Linked DNA regions of Homo sapiens: region 2 is linked to region 1. Evidence: promoter capture Hi-C in 16 types of primary human blood cells and fetal thymus (Javierre and others, 2016). All regions are on one chromosome and are shown on one strand. Each heading gives the region's core, a stretch centred on a gene start or on the middle of the fragment in contact. The rest is flanking DNA. Distances are from core to core; before and after follow the strand shown.

What was found. Contacts are between HindIII fragments. The CHiCAGO score rates a contact against its expected background, and 5 or more counts as called.
Region 2: a contact is called between a fragment that was not itself captured here and the fragment with the promoter of PALS1 in region 1, in 2 of 17 cell types (naive CD4 T cells and M0 macrophages). The highest score is 7.0, in naive CD4 T cells.

What each region holds. Positions count from the first base shown.
Region 1 is chr14:67,238,159-67,243,249 of GRCh38, forward strand. It overlaps PALS1 (protein associated with LIN7 1, MAGUK p55 family member), which reads left to right and starts at 3,277. Exons shown (of 15, transcript NM_022474.4): 1 at 3,277-3,375. It overlaps LOC124903330 (a long non-coding RNA gene), which reads right to left and starts at 3,251. Exons shown (of 2, transcript XR_007064217.1): 1 at 1,132-3,251. It also overlaps a transcript of GPHN not described here. RefSeq lists an enhancer at 2,629-2,908 and a silencer at 2,889-3,858. The HindIII fragment of the contact is 3,073 bases long and covers 1,372-4,444 here.
Region 2 is chr14:65,411,170-65,416,065 of GRCh38, forward strand. FUT8 (fucosyltransferase 8) reads left to right here and starts at 1,561. Exons shown (of 11, transcript NM_001371533.1): 1 at 1,561-2,045. It overlaps FUT8-AS1 (FUT8 antisense RNA 1), which reads right to left and starts at 1,448. Exons shown (of 1, transcript NR_024334.1): 1 at 1-1,448. RefSeq lists enhancers at 740-1,059, 2,302-2,866 and silencers at 1,600-1,759, 2,060-2,179, 2,190-2,379. The HindIII fragment of the contact is 4,909 bases long and covers 1-4,433 here.

The DNA.
Region 1 (5,091 bases), core at 2,027-4,526:
AGTTTTTGCATATATACCAGTAATTTGTATGACTTGGAGATTCTGGGATTGGCTCAATTCACCAGAAAATAGATTTCTTTTTTCTTTTCTTTCTTTCTCTTTCTTGCTTTCTTTTTTTTTTTTTTTTTTAGACACGGTCTTGCTCTGTTGCTCAGGCTAGAGTGCAGTGACACAATCACAGCTCACTGCAGCCTAGATCTCCTGGGCTCAAGGGATCCTCCCATCTCAGCTTCCCAAGTAGCCAGGACTACAGGAGCGTGCCACCACACCCAGCTAATTGTTAAATTTTTTTGTAGAGACGGGGTCTCCCCATGTTGACCAGGCTGGTTTTGAATTCTTGGGCTCAAGCAATCCTCCCGCTTTGGCATCCCAAAGTGTTGGGATCACAGGTGTGAGTTACTGCACCTGACCCACTAGAGAGTAGATTTGTTATTTGCTGTAGGATCTGCCCTCTTTTAACATGAAAATATCTTTAGGAGGTAAAATAATAACTTTTTTTTTTTGAGACAGGGTCTCACTCTATTGCCCAGGCTGGAGTGCAGTGGTGTGATCTCAGCTTACTGCAGCATCGACCTCCCAGGCTTAGATGATCCTCCTGCCTCAGCCTCCCAAGTAGCTGGGATTATAAGCACACACCATCATGCCCAGCTAATTTTGTATTTTTTGTAGAGATGGGTTTTTGCCATGTTGCCAAGGCTGGTTTTGAACTCCTGGGGTCAAGGGATCCATACACCTTGGCATCCCAAAGTGCTGGGATTACAGGTGTAAGCCACCATGCCAGGCCATAACTAATATTTTTATAGCACTTCTTTTCCTGAAAAAAATGCCCTTCTGAATTGTTATAGCACTTTAAAAAGGAATTTCACATATTTTGAGATAAGCAGCTGGTCTGCTATCTCACACTCATACTAATAATTATTTTATTATGGTGGGGTCCTGTATGGGAATCTAAGCAGCTGAGGAAGCAAGGCTAGGTACTTGGCGGGTTCATTTGGGTGGAGGCTTTTTTTGTGTGTGTGTTTTGTTGTTTTGTAAAACTGCCTGGGGCCAAGAGATTGGAAGTTACGGATAAAGATATACTATCTTTCCAAAGAGGTCCTTTCTTTGAACAGCTAGATCTGCAGTCCTTACCTGAAGATGATTTTGCTCATTCCTCCCCATGACCTTTGGTGATGTCTGGAGACATTTTTGATTGTCACATTGGGGAGGGTGATGCTACTGGCACGTAGTGGGTAGAGGCTGGGGATGCTTCTAAACATCCTATGATGCACAGGACAGTCCCCACAAGAATTATCCAGCCCAAATGTCAATAGTGCCAAGGATGAGAAATTATAAGCTAGAGAAAGAAGAATTCATTGACGAGCTGGAGGAAGCTTCTTGAATTATTATTTATGTTATATATTTAAGAACTTAGAGGCGGGGCACGGTTGCTCACGCCTGTAATCCTAGCACTTTGGAAGGCTGAGAAAGGTGGATCACCTGAGGTCAGGTGTTCAAGACCAGCTTGGCCAATGTGGCGAAACCCCGTCTCTACTAACAATACAAAAATTAGCCGGGCGTGGTGGCTGGCACCTGTAATCCCAGATACTGGGGAGGCTGAGGGAGGAGTATCGCTTGAACCCGGGGAGCGGAGGTTGCAGTGAGCCGAGATTGCGCCACTTTACTCCAGCCTGGGCAAAAGAGCGAAACTCCGTCTCAAACAAAAACAAAAACAAAAGAACTTAGAAAAGGAAGTAAGTCACACACAGTAACCGTTTTTTCTTTTGGGGTATGGCTAGTAGTTTCTAGGAATCCTGGAGACTTTATCTGGATTTCAGTTAGGCATTTCACCAGTTCTCATGGCATCTTTATGGAGGAATATGGGCCAAGAAGACAGTTCGGTTGTGTCGTCCACCTGTATTCGAAGCCTACTGAGAAATTTTTGATGGCAGGAGCATTAAGGTCTTTAGTGGCATGCAGCAGAGTTCTGTCCTCCGCTCTGTCTTATTAAACACTTGGACAGAATGCTGATCAGATTTGAGAAGGATAACAAATCTGGGAAGGGTAGGCATCCCCAAAGATCTTCACCACCAGGAACAACGGTTTGCTTCGTTCAGGCCATCACAGTGTCCTTAGTGAGGGACACCACAACCCATAGGCTGTCCAGAGGAGCGTAATGGGGAAGAATGTGAAAGAGCTTGAAAATCAGGACCTGAGGACATTGCGAGATGGAAAAACACCGTGGGACAAAATGAGGAAAACCGAGAGAAATGGAAATGGCATATACGAAGGCTTTGAGGGAGGACTGTGCCCCTGGGGGAAACTGTGCCCCCGGGCTGGAGTCACAGGCATAGTTTGGCCTCATAGAAGGAGAGGTCGATTAACAAACCTTGCAAGTGTTCAAATGTGGAATGGGCTTGCTCGGAAGGTACTGTCAAGACAGAGACCATCCGAGGGCTTTTATTGCAAGTGTCGAGACACATTGCTGGTGTTTCTCCTTAGAACGTCCTCCAATCTGCTCTGACTTCCGCCCGCACCCGCCTGAGTCCTGCCCCATTCCAAGGGTGGCACATCCAGGTCCCGAGGGCGCCAGCCATGCCCGGAGCACGGGCTGATCTGCGTAACTCTGTCCCTTCGGGAGACTTCTGGGAAATAGTTCTAGTCCTTGCTATCCTTGCTTTCTGGTTTTCAGAAATCAGTGCAGCTGCTGGCTTTATGCAGTCTTCTGCGGGACACTGCACACATCCAGGTGTTTATGTCATTTTTTAAAAAAAACAAATGTTAGATTGGGTGACTAACTTGACAGGACATGAGGAATCTCTTCAAGAGGAATCAGATTTTCTTCAGGATACGTCATCCAGAGACAAGAGCCAAGGGATGTAGAAACCCAGGGAAGCCTCGCGTCCCCACAAAGCCCGCCGGCCAAATCCCGAAGGGGCTCTACCGGGCCAGCTAGCCCGGAGCAGTCCGCGTTTTAGACTTAGAGGCGCGCGACTGCGCGCACCCGGCTGGAGCTGCGGAGAGGACCAATGAGCGGGCGCTCTCTCCGCTCCGGCTCGGGATTGGGCAAGCCGCGCCAGCCTCTCACGGGCGGGGTGGGACTCGGATCCGCGCGCCCACTGCGCCAGAGTCCCGGGGGCGCGTGCGCGGTCTCGCGGCGGCCGCAGGGGCCGGTCTCGCGCGGTCTAGAAGTGGAGTTGCTGGCGGCTGCGGCGGTGACGGCGGCGACGGAGGAGGCAGGCGGTGGGGCGGGGGCGGGGACTAAGGATTCTGAGGTGGGGAGTCGGGAGTTTCTGGATTCTTTATCCGGAATTTCAAGGGCCGCCGGAGGGCTGTCGCTTCTGCAGTGCGTAGGAGCGGCCGGGGCGGGAGGCTCCGCGGAGCCGAGGCGTGGAGGTAAGAGGCGGATCGGCGGCGGCTGGGCTGTAGAGATCTTAATCAACAGGTCCCTGGGAGCGCGGCGGGGGAGGGGCGGGCGGCCGGGCTCCCCTTCCCCCACACGCTGCGCAAACTCCGGCCAGCGGGAGACCCCTGGCAGCCAGGCGGGCTTCCTCAGGCGCGCGAGCTGCGGCCGTGGAGGGTGTGAGCCCAACCTTTGTCCCTCGGAGCAACGCTGCCTGCGCGGTGCCCGCTCCTTCTGCTTGGCTGGGCATGCACCTTGGCGCGGGCCACAGCCAGCCGAGCCCGAGGTGCAGGGGGCGCGGCGGGGAGTCGTCTGCCCCCTGCGCCCTCTCTCCGAGGTCGCGACGCGCGGGACTCTCCCGGCCGGGTCTGGGAAATCGGCGAGGGAACGCTTTCCTTTAGAAGTCAGAATGTAGTCAGCGTTCCTCTGCCTGACTCAGCTGCTGGTATTCTGCTGCTCATTGCGTTCTTAAACACGCAAACAGTTCCTGCTTCCTTGTGACCACTTTAAAAGAAAAGCCTAGTTTTGTTCATGGTTTCTGATACTTTAAGGTTGCACGTTGAACTTTGAAGCATGTAAATTGTTATAACCTACGTTTAATGAAGTTTGCTTTAAACGATCTTTGTAGTAAATTATGTAACTTTCTAATGATCATAACTCACCTTCTGTTGATTGACATACAGTAATGTGTACGGAATGTAGGTTTCGGTCAAAAGGTTTTTCTTGGCAGTTTATGCTAAAATTAAAATCTGATGGCTAGGAAGTTTTTAGATGTAGTATGGAGTGTGTGTTTTGTCTCCATACTCGTTTAGAATAGTAAGAATTTAGATTTGGAAAGTCAGTTGAACAAAAATTTTGAAATTTTGATTTGACTGACGCAGTGAAAGGTGTTAATATTTCTGATTTTTTAAAAAAGCAATATCATGTTTTAATGATAGTTTACTAATTATGCTTTTGGATTATACCAGAAGTTAATAACCTGTTAAATTATGCAATAGGAACAAATGACGTGTTGGTTATTGGTGTCTTTGAAGTATTGGTGGTAATGAAACTTATTAAATAAGCTTCCTTGAATTAAGAACTACGATTTTTTTTTTTTACTAGATCCCTGTGGACATAGCTATTGTGGATAGGTTTTATAGGCTTTCTATTTGCGGCAGGATGAGCTATTAAATTATAATGTAAGAGATTTATAGATAAAACAGGCAAAAATAGGAAAAGCAATTCATTATTTTATCTTTAAAAATCTGGTAAATTTTACCATGTACCTGAATTAGTTTTGGCAAGACGGACTTGAACTTGACAAATTAAGGTGGATTGATTAACATTAATTTGTTTTAGAATGTTAAAACGGGAGAGAATATATAAGTTCTACTTGAGGGTGACCCAAGTCAGTACAGTGGGTTTAGCTTTTACATGATCTTGAATTATGATTTTGATTAAAAATCTCATCACAGGGGCACGTGTTTTCAGGATCTCCTGAGGGCTGTGTCATGGAAAAAATAAAATTTATCACCCATTCCAAGAAATTTGATCAATTTTATATATTATTTACTGAAATGCCCTATTTCTCTGATATTTTCTGATTTCAGAGTGTCTAGAAAAAAATAGTATCTTGACATATGTGCTTATATAGAATATAATTGTCTTTTCTTTTTTTTTTTGTGAGACATAGTCTCGCTCTTGCCCAGGCTGGAGTGTAGTGGCGC
Region 2 (4,896 bases), core at 729-3,228, 1.8 Mb before region 1:
TTGTTATTGAATTATTTTATTGAATGATGACACCCAAACTGAGCTAGAACATAATTCTGGCTCTGCTAGTACATCTTCTGTGTGATCTTGGACAAGTCACTCTACTTTCCTTTCAATTTTCTTTTCTCACAGGGAGATAATCATAAAAACGACTGTAAAGTACAGCACTTCATAGAGTGCTTTTTGTTTAAAGAGCTGACAATAAATACGAGTCTCAAGGTCTAGGAAAGCCTCCCTCACAACCTGAGCTGCTTGAGGACAAGGGATTTTCTTTTGAATCAGCAGTACCTTATTTGTGTATCTGTGATAGAGTTCCTGGTACATAAGAAGGTCTCAATAAATATGTGAATTTATGAATATTAGGCAGATTGCAACCTTGACAGGCCACTGCCTCTTAAATCTCCTTTCTGTGATCTTTTAATATTTAACATCTAAAAGGCCGCCGCTACTTGCTTTGGGATAAGTATCCCCGGTATGTACTTTAAAATGCCCAAGCCTAGAGAAATGATTCTTGTCTTAAGGGCACCATTTCGCTCTCCCACCGTAAAGCGCCCCAGGCTTGGGATCTGGGTCCCAAGGCTACAGGGAAGAGTTTGGAACGGGAAGCTCATCTTCCGGCCCTCTGATTGGCCGGCTCGCACTCCACTCACGCGGCGCGCAGCTCTGATTGGCCTCGGCGGCACCCCTCGTCCCGCGACTACTTTGTGTGCTGGGGCGGCGCGCTCCGGTCCTCCCGCTCAGCTGGCGGTCTGGGCTGCTCTGGGGCAGCCCTTCGGTCCACTGCTCTGCATCGCGGGCGCCGGGAATTTTCCGAGTCCGAGCGGGTAGGACGCATCCTAGGGCAAAGCCTCTCCCCTCTCCCCGTGCTGTTCTCTTTCCCGTACTAAATAAACTTCCGCCTCAGAGGGGCTGTCGCAGCCGCGGGTCGGGAGAGGCCGGGCATCGAACTCAGGCCCTCGTGGGGGGGGTCTTTCTCTTCGAGTGAATGTGGAAACAGCTCTTACAAGATAAAGTAGGGCTTCGCTGAGTCTCCTGGGGGAGCGATGCCATTGTAGGATCGCGCTGGAAGCAGCAGTCAAGCGGCCAAATGCGGGCTGCAGGGGCTGAGCAGCAGCAGCGCGCACCCCTAAAAGTAGCAAGGAGCCAGCTTCAAAACCTCTAGTGCGGGTGCCCCCTAGGGCCGCCGACTGAGCTGGCACGGGCCGGTCCATTCCCGGCGCTGTAGGGAGCACAGCATTCTCTGGAGGCGAGTCTCCTCCCGGGATCCAGGATCCGCTCGCGCCCCGCTCAGCCTCCGGCCTTCAGGCGGTAGAGGGCGGCCTACGCCTGTGTGCGAGCCGGAGCCGGCGTGCGCAGCCGCTGCCCTGCTGGAACTGTGCCGTCCCGCTGTGGCCCGCGGCTCTGCTAGGCGGTGGATGCTGCTGCTACGCTCTCCACCGGCGCAGCGAGGAAGGGGGCGGGGAGAATCCCTGGCACATGCCAGGGTCGCCGTAGGTGGCAGCGGCCGGCGCATGCGCGCCCTCTCCCAGAAGCCAGGAACGCCGAGGGGCGCGCTCCCCCATTCGCGCGCGCACGCCGGCGCTGGCCGAGGCTTCCCCGCCTGCGCTCGTTGTCAGAGCCGCTCCGGCGCGTGCGCGCGTTATCTCCGGCCGACCCGAGCAGCCGGTTCCCTCCTCTCCAGGCCCCCTCCCCATCCCACCCCCGCCGCCTGGCCCCAGCCGACCCGTCCCTTCGTCTCCCCGCGGAATGGGGCCGGCACTGCTCAGGGTCGCGCGCCCTGGACCCAGCTCGCTCTCGGTCTCGCGCTGTCAGCGACTGCCCGGCTCGCGCCGCCTCGCGCTCTGCCTCAGTCAGTGGCGCCGAAGGCTCCGTTAAGCGGCGGCGGCGGTTCCTGTTTCCGTTTCTTCCTCTCCGTTCGGTCGGGAGTAGCATCCTCCACTCAGCCACCCTTCCCACTCCCCCATCGTGGGGCAGCTGCGGCTGAGGGCTGTGGCTTTGGCAGCTGCGACGGGGAGCGGCGGAGACCGCCTCTGCTCCCGCCTGGGGTAAGGGGGCGTTTTGGGAGCCGGGCCCCGCGCGCCTCGGGGTCTTGGGCTGGGCTGCGCGCGGGATCTGAGGAGGCTCCGCGGCTGTCCCTGCTCGTTCACCCGGGCCTGTTGCTGCAACTGCTGCCGGTTAACCAGCGGCTCTCGGAAAAGTGGGGAGGGAGCCCCCGGGACGCTCTGGCGGATGCCTTGGCGCAGCCCCGGGGGCGCGGGCAGAGGGTGAGGGGCGCCCGCCTCTCCAGCCGGGACGCGGAGCTGCGCCGCTGCTGCCCTCGGCGTCGCGCATCCTTGCCTAGGGCAGGGGCCAAAGCCTAGGGAAGGAGAAGGGTTGGGGGCGGGGGTGGGAGGTGTCCGTCGTTTCCCCTCCACACCTACCTTCCCTTCGTCAGCAGCTCGGTCCCTGGAGTCGCGGTTTGTGGGGAGGAAGATGCCCGTGCGTTATGGGCTCTTTCTGAGTGCTGCTCGGGCTAGAAAGCAGGGAGTGGACCCTCACAAAGATCCGCGAGGGACTGATGCAGGGCAGTTAAAGGCTTGAGTGCAGCTGTACTCCCTTTTGATGTGCAAATGACGAGCTGGCGGCTTTTGAGTATCAACTTATTTGGGAAGGTTAAATGAGTCCATATTTATCAGTTCTAGGAGGTTTGTCCTGCAGGATTGAGTGGGTTGTCGGGTGCAGCACCTGTTCTTTCTTCACAGTGGGGATTGCAATCTTCAGAGACGCAGTGTATTTCTTAAGTGGCAGTGTCATGCTTAGGGTTTGTCCCGGATGAGCTTTTATTTTAGCATTTTGCCATATAATATATAGATTGAGGCCTTGGTTAAAGGCACGGACAGGTGGTGTTTTTTTCCTTCCTATGTTTTAATTATTCACAGTTTATTTAAACCCACTCAGGAAGGTGGACCCAGAAAAGCCAAATTCTGTAGTACATAACCCCAAATTTCAAGGTTTTGCGGAACAAATTCAACACAAGTTTTGTGTCAGTTTAGAGTTAAACGCATCTCAAGTAACTGACTTAACTGGCTTGCCTCTATGAAAACTGTAGGCAGGTTTCATTATAGATTTTTTTTTTCTTGTTATTCCGGCGGTTAGGTGCATGTTTATTTTCTTGATTAAATTTACATTCTATGTTTTATGACTAATTCTTTAAATAGGTGCATCATATAGAAAGTATTTTAGGAGAGAAATTATTATTTAAGCACTACAGTATATCAGATATATGAGAAATAATGGAGTTGTAGTCTCTGCTCTTTAAAATAACTGTAAAAACATCTTAAAACCCTATGCCAAATAATAAGGCCCTGTACCTTGCTGTCCTTGTGAAATCTGGTATGTGTATAGAAAATCTTAATTACTTGATTTGTAAATACTACAGTAGTATTGAAAAGGTGGGAATTCAAGCATTTGTAATTGTGATTTCACAGGTTTAGTGTGTAAAAAATGCAGGGAGTTAGAGATGAATAGGCTATAAGACACGTACAAAGGTAGTTCCAAGACATGGATTTTCTTTTTGCTGCCTTATAAATTGAGAATTCTATTTGAATTCAAGAGCTGAACAGCTGGAATGAAACTTGCATAGATTGCAGAAACAGATGCAAAAATGTATCTTTGGTCAAGTTGTGAGTTAACTTGAAGAGTGTCTTGTGTAATAGGATAGTGATTCAAAATAATTTCCATAAAGTACGGCCTTATATAGGTTATATTTTGAGGATATTTTTGAATTTAAAAAGTCACCTGAAGTTGTTTTCCTACAAATCAGTTCTGTTTAAGATGTATGGAATCGAAAAAAACAAAACAAAACTAATTCTGATTACATCCTGCATTGTTTTGTTGCAAATTCTTACCAGTTATTTTTACGCAATTGGAGTGTCCTTAAAAGTGGTGAATCTTAAAATTTGCCAGTGGATTGGAAAAAACTGTTAACTTATTATTTTTAAAAATGCTGTTATATTAGTACATTGGTCTGGAGGGGGAGCTAGTGCCAAAGCAAAGTATAGCTTAATAGCTGTTTGAACTTTTAAAACACCCAAAACCAGATTTTTATGACCAAAAGAAACATAAATTTTTAATTAAAAGAGTAGGAAATTGATGTGGGCATATATATGTACATAGTTATTTGTGGAGTGAATATATTGTGTATTACAAATTAGTTTAAAAAAGTCTTTTCATGCGCTGCAATAATGGAAAGCTAAATGCTTAAAGATTTATTGGATTTCTCACTTAAAAATCTCTAAAATGTACCCCCAAACTTAGAGTATGTTATAGTATTTTCTTAACCTTCTTGTCCTGTTCATCAGAATCTAAGGCATGTATTCTTGACCCATTGTACATGTTGTGTGTTCTTAAATTTTGTTTTTATAATAGCTACAATCCTAAAATTTCAAAAACGAAGCTTCAAGTAGAATCTTATATGGGCGAAGGTATTAATTGTGTGGTAAGCTAGGTATTTATCAAAAGTAGATATAATTCCTTTTTTTTTTTTTTTTAAAGTAGAGATAATTCCAATAAAAAAATGGACCTTTTAGACATCTGGAGAACAATATCCCCAGGTCACTTAACCCTTATCTCCTGCAGTATAATGCAGTGCGTCCAGCTGATCTACCAAATTGAATGTGTGCCTTTGAATACGAAGCAGTTGTTTTGTGGCCTGTGGCATTTCATTTAGGTTTCTAAGCTGTAATAAATTAGTATGTTAATTTACTTCTTTCCATTCACATATTCTTTAAATCCAAGCCTAGAAACTGATAGTTATATGTATATTAAAATCATTGGAATATTGGTTTTTTTGCAGATAGTGTTTGGGCTGTTTATTATCCATAGCTCTTCATTATGTAAATAGAATCTCAATGCTGA